Linked DNA regions of Homo sapiens: region 2 is linked to region 1. Evidence: promoter capture Hi-C in 16 types of primary human blood cells and fetal thymus (Javierre and others, 2016). All regions are on one chromosome and are shown on one strand. The core of a region is centred on a gene start or on the middle of the fragment in contact, and the rest is flanking DNA. Distances in the headings are between cores, read along the strand shown.

Region 1 (2,740 bases), core at 21-2,520:
CCCCTGCACATTGACATATTCCTGTCATATCAGGTTTCTACCTTTTCTGAATTAAAGGTGAGCACAAATGGTCAGACAAGAATATTTGCACTTAGCCTATTACATAAACTCATGGAGGGGGAGGATTGAACATTCCCCTGGCCCTCGGTTAAGTCACTGCATTTTTACAAAGACCTGAAGACAATACCAACAGAATGAATAAGGAGCAGTTCATGTATTAGATGCCCCAGACAAGTAAAGAAGATATCATTCCAGGGGGGCTGTTACAAAAAAACAAGTTTTGTCTATTACGAAGGGCTGGACCCTGCCTCAATTTCTTTAAAAGGGCTCATGGCTTTCTGCCAGAACCACCCCACTCCACCGCCATCTCAACTCAGCCCTAATTTTTTAACTATAAACTGCAATTTAAAATAAAGCAGCTTTTTCATTCTCCATGGATTTCCATCATTTCCTTCCCTCTAACGCCTTGAGGCTTAGCCAAAGTGGGGTTTTGCAGCCTATCGGCACCCAAGCAGTAGAAGAGACATCAGGATGTGTAAAGTGCTTTGGGATCCATCCCAGAGACTAGGACCCACAGATGCCTCCTGCCTCCCTCTGCCCACAGGTGCCGCTGCTCGGGGTAGGGGTCATGGATGGGAATCCAACATGCTTTTCCTGGCAGGACCTGTCAGGCAGGGGCTAAGGGTAAGAATGCAACCCCATTCTCAACCGCCCTAAAAAACTGAGTGAAGTGGGGACGGGGCCCCGCTGAGAGAGGTGAAAAGGGGTGAGGAGGAGCCGAGGGTCCTCGGCTCAGCAAGAGGCGAAACCGCCACGCGCTGGACGCTGGACGACGACAACCGCTAGAGCTATGCCTCGGGCGAGGTCCCCTCCCGGGTCCCACCCTTCCTGGACCTGACCCCCTGGATCACCTTGATCTTCTCGCCCTCGATTTCCACGGTCTTCTCCCTGAAGTCCACGCCGATGGTGGCTTCAGTCTTGTCTGGGAAGGTACCCCCGCAGAAGCGGAAGGTCAGGCAGGTCTTGCCCACGTTGGAGTCCCCAATCACGATTATTTTGAAGATGCGAATCTGCACGTACTGGTCCAGCGACGAGTCGAGCTCCAGGGACGCCAGGCCAGCGGCCGAGGCGGGCTGCAGGCTCCCATGGCCCAGGATGGGCTGCGCCATCTCCCCCGGACCGAACCGGGGCCCCAACCCCCCTTGAGGGCTCCACACAAAGAGAACGTCCACGTTCGTGCGCTCGAGGCGAGCGAGCTCTGTGCGTGTGTGTGTGCGCGCGTGTGTGTGTGTCCGCCCGTGTGTGCGTGCGCCGGCACCGTGTGCGCGCGCGCGCGTGAAGGGGGTGCCTCTCACTCCGGGCCCCCCTCCTCCTCCTCCAGCGCACCCTCCTTGCAGCTCGGAGGCACCAACACAAAAGCCAGGGAGAGGAGGAGAGAGGGAGGAGAGTGGACGAGCCGCGAGCCTTCTGCCTGTGTGCGCCCTCGGACCGGATGCTCTGGCGAAGGACCCTACCGCGCTGCTCCAGCCGCCGCCGCGCCTCGGCCCACACCCTCCCCTGCCTGCATTCCCGGGACGGACCCGAGGGAAGAAGCCTCAGGAGGAAAGAGACGGGGTGGGGACAGCGGCACACGCCACCCCGGGATAGACTTCTTTCTCCTTGCCCCCGTTTATGTTATAGGTTTCGGGCTCCCCACCCCCACTGGCTCGAGCGCACGGGGTCAGCGGGCAGGGAGCACAGCTGGGGAGGACAAAGAGCTGCACCTTAAGACATCACTGGATCACTTCGGCCTCCCTGGAGCAACGCAACTCTGCGGGGATGGGGTGGGGGCGGAGGCACCTCTTTCACCTCGGGAGCAGCGGGCAGCTGAGCCGCGCCTTCCCGGTCCCCGCTACCCCGTCCCCTCTACCCCCACCCTCTACCCGACCCGCGCCTTGGGATAAAGGGATGCTCTGTCTTAATGAGTGAGCAGGTGCACTCGCGGGCCCCAGGCAGCCTGGGAGGCCGCTGCCAAGACACGCAGTGGGTTGTCCGGGGCCTGTACAGCTGAGAGGAGGGAGCCAGCGGGCACGCGTGTGCGTGTGTAGGGGGTGTAACTGTTTCTGTTACAGACTTGCCAGATGTAGGGGGGCGCGTACCAGGCGCCAACATCCCCTTATCACACCACGCGCACCCATCCTCTGAATGTTCAGGAGAGCGGCTCCTATTGGCTGCCGCAGTCGGTTGTGTTTGGCTGGCCAATGGGGAAGGCCCGCCGCGGGAGAGGGCCACACAGAGGCTAGGAGAAGGGGGGGAAGCTAGTGGTGGCAGTTCCAGCAAAAGGGGACTTTGTTTACGGGGCTAGCCATTACTGGCCCAGGTGGAGGATCTTGGGACAATGGCATAAGCTCCACAGTGCCTTCCATTCCCAAGCCCTCCATATAACCATAAGTCCCTCCAGAACGCTGGAGTTTCAGAGGGAGTTGGGAATCCCTAGGAGGGTTCACCTCCCCCTGCAGCTGAATGTAGAACAAAGTGGTTGGGTCTAATTTGCCAGAAGCCTAGATTATGCTTGGAAGATGATAAATGAACACAACCTCCTTACAGTATTAGGGGGCTGCTGCCCAAAGCTTACTAATCATCACACACATCTTGGTCAAGACCAGTATTCCTTCTCCCTAAAGTCATTCGCGGGTTCAGAATTTGTTTGAAATCGACTTTACTGGGGGTACAATTTACATACGATAAAGTGCACCCATTT
Region 2 (2,700 bases), core at 47-2,546, 200 kb after region 1:
CAAATGGCCTGGTCTCTGCCCTCTTAGAGCCCCAGGTGTGGATGGGGAGACAGCATGTCCGGTTAAACTGAACTCTGTAAACAACCAACAACTTTTTTGGATTTTATAGCCAAAGGAGTGAAAATGAGGAAAGGGGCTGAAATCAACCCAGAGGCCTCACCGGGTCAAGCCCTTCAGCTTGCTGACCACTCTCCTCTTCCCTGAGACTCCTAGGCTCTAAACAAAGTTCTTTCTTAAAAATTATTATTTTTTTTAACATTAGAGGGGGTGGTGGTGGCGTGGTCTTGCAATGTTGCCTAGGCTGGTCTGGAACTCCTGGGCTCAAGTGATCCTCCAGCCTTGGCCTTCCAAAATGCTGGGATTATAGGTGTGTGAGCCACCGCGCCCAGCCAACAAAGTTCTTAATCAAACATGCAGTGCTAGAAGTGGAAGGGATTCTAAGAAATCTGCCCTCCTGAAAAACTGGCTATGGTTGGCCACTGCCAACAAAATCAAGTCCATGAGCCTTCACCTAGCCTTTAGGGCCCTCCCTGATCTAGTTCTAGCCTCCTTTCCTTCCATGTCTCTCACAAGCCCTCTTTTCTGACCTGACTGGCCCCCTCGGCATTCCTTGGATAAGCCATCCATTTTGTCAGCTCTGCTTCCTCAGCTTTTTTTTTTTTTTAAACACTTAAAAAAATTGTACAGATGAGGCTGGGCGTGGTGGCTCACACCTGTAATCCCAGCACATTGGGAGGCCAAGGCGGGTGGATCACCTGAGGTCAGAAGTTCAAGACCAGCCTGGTCAACATGGTGAAACCCCATCTCTACTAAATATACAAATATTAGCCAGGCATGGTGGCAGGTGCCTGTAATCCCAGCTACTCAGGAGGCTGAGGCAGGAGAATCGCTTGAACTCAGGAGGTGGAGGTTGCAGTGAGCCAAGATCACGCCATTGTGCTCCAGCCTGGGCAAAGAGAGCAAAACTTTGTTCAAAAAAAAAAATTGCACAAATGAGTTCTTGAGTTCTCGTTGTGTTGCCCAGGCTGGTCTTGAACTCCTAGCCTCAAGTGATCCTTCCCTCTTCGCCTCCTAAAGTGCTGAGATTACAGGTGTGAGCCACCATAGTGGCCTCCCACAGGTTTTTTTGTTTGTTTGTTTGCTTGCTTTTTTTTGAGATGGAGTTTTGCTCTTGTCGCCCAGCCTGGAATGCAATGGCGTGATCTTGGCTCACTGCAACCTCCTTCTCCTGGGTTCAAGCGATTCTCCTGCCTCAGCCTCCCTAGTAGCTGGGATTACAGGCACGTGCCACCACACCCAGCTAATTTTTGTATTTTTAGTAGAGACAGGGTTTCACCATGTTGGCCAGGTTGGTCTCGAACTCCTGATTTCACATGATCCACCCACCTTGGCTTCTCAAAGTGCTGGGATTATAGGCGTGAGCCATCGCACCTGGCCCCTCCCACCTGCCCCCTCCCACAGCTTTTTATATGTCTTTCTCAGCTTATTGAAATCTCACTCAACCGTTACTCAAGACAGCTCTCTCATCTGGGTGTGGCGGCTCACGCCTGTAATCCCAGCACTTTGGGAGACCAAGGTGGGTGGGTCACTTGAGGTCAGGAGTTCGAGACCAGCCTGGGCAACATGGCAAAACCCCGTCTCTACTTAAAATACCAAACTTAGCCAGGTGTAATGGCACACGCCTGTAATCCCAGCTACTTGGGAGGCTGAGGCAGGAGAATTGCTTGAACCTGGGAGGCAGAGGCTGCAGTGAGCTGAGATCTTGCCACTGCACTCCAGCCTGGGCGACAGAGCAAGACTCTGTCTCAAACAACAAACAACAAACAAACAAACAAAAGACCATTCTCTCATGCCCCTTTCCCTGACACCCACACCCTCCCTATGGAAGTTGGCTGCTCCTCTGGGGCACCCCCACAGTTTTTAGCTTGTCCCTTTAGTTAGCACTTCCACACTCTGCCTGTCTATCTCTCCGACTAGATTTTAAGTTCCTTGGATAAAAGGACTCAGTATTTCTCATCTGTGTATCACAGCCTCCTTCATCTCCCCCCAAGACCTCCCACCTTGGCACATAGTAGGACTTGTTTTACAGTGGAGAAGCTGAGGCCCAGACTTGACTTCCCTTCTTGCCAAAGACTCATTTTAAAGTCTGGGTCTCTTTTAGTCTTTCTCTTCCCACTCAGTGATTAAGCACACAATCTCTGAAGTTAGACAGACATGGTTTGAATACTGGCTCCACCACTTCCTAGCGCTATTGCCTTGCATACTTTTCTCTGAGCCTCAATTCCCTCATTTGTGAAATGGGGGCTAATAAGTACCTCCTGAAAACGTTATAAGGGCCAGGCGCGGTGGCTGAAGCCCGTAATCCCAATGCTTTGTGTGGCCAAGGCGGGGGGAACAGTTGAAGTCAGGAGTTCAAGATCAGCCTGGGCAATATGGTGAAACTCATCTCTGTATATAAAAAAGAAGAAGAAGAAGCAAACGTTATAAAGATCACATGAGTTCTTGTATGTTAAGCACTTAGAACAGTGCCTGGCACCCAGTAGATGCTCCATAGTAGTTTAAAAAAATAAGGAATTTTTAAAGTTCAGAACTTGAGAGCGCCTGCTTCATTTAAGCCTAGGAATAAAACCCACAACCTGAACATAAAGAAAAAGAGATGTATTTTTGGGAAGGAGAATAGAATAAAATTTAGCAAGAACT

What was found. The method cuts DNA at HindIII sites, captures the fragments that hold promoters and counts their contacts. A CHiCAGO score of 5 or more calls a contact.
Region 2: a contact is called between a fragment that was not itself captured here and the fragment with the promoter of RAB33A in region 1, in 1 of 17 cell types (naive CD8 T cells). The highest score is 5.7, in naive CD8 T cells.

Annotation. Positions count from the first base shown.
Region 1 is chrX:130,170,492-130,173,231 of GRCh38, reverse strand. It overlaps RAB33A (RAB33A, member RAS oncogene family), which reads right to left and starts at 1,270. Exons shown (of 2, transcript NM_004794.3): 1 at 912-1,270. The coding sequence starts at 1,169. RefSeq lists enhancers at 733-1,687, 2,497-2,546 and silencers at 1,807-1,886, 2,057-2,116. The HindIII fragment of the contact is 5,739 bases long and covers 1-2,611 here.
Region 2 is chrX:129,973,740-129,976,439 of GRCh38, reverse strand. No RefSeq gene overlaps it. Among named protein-coding and RNA genes, the nearest start is that of BCORL1, 7.5 kb to the left of the region's middle. The HindIII fragment of the contact is 3,364 bases long and covers 1-2,700 here.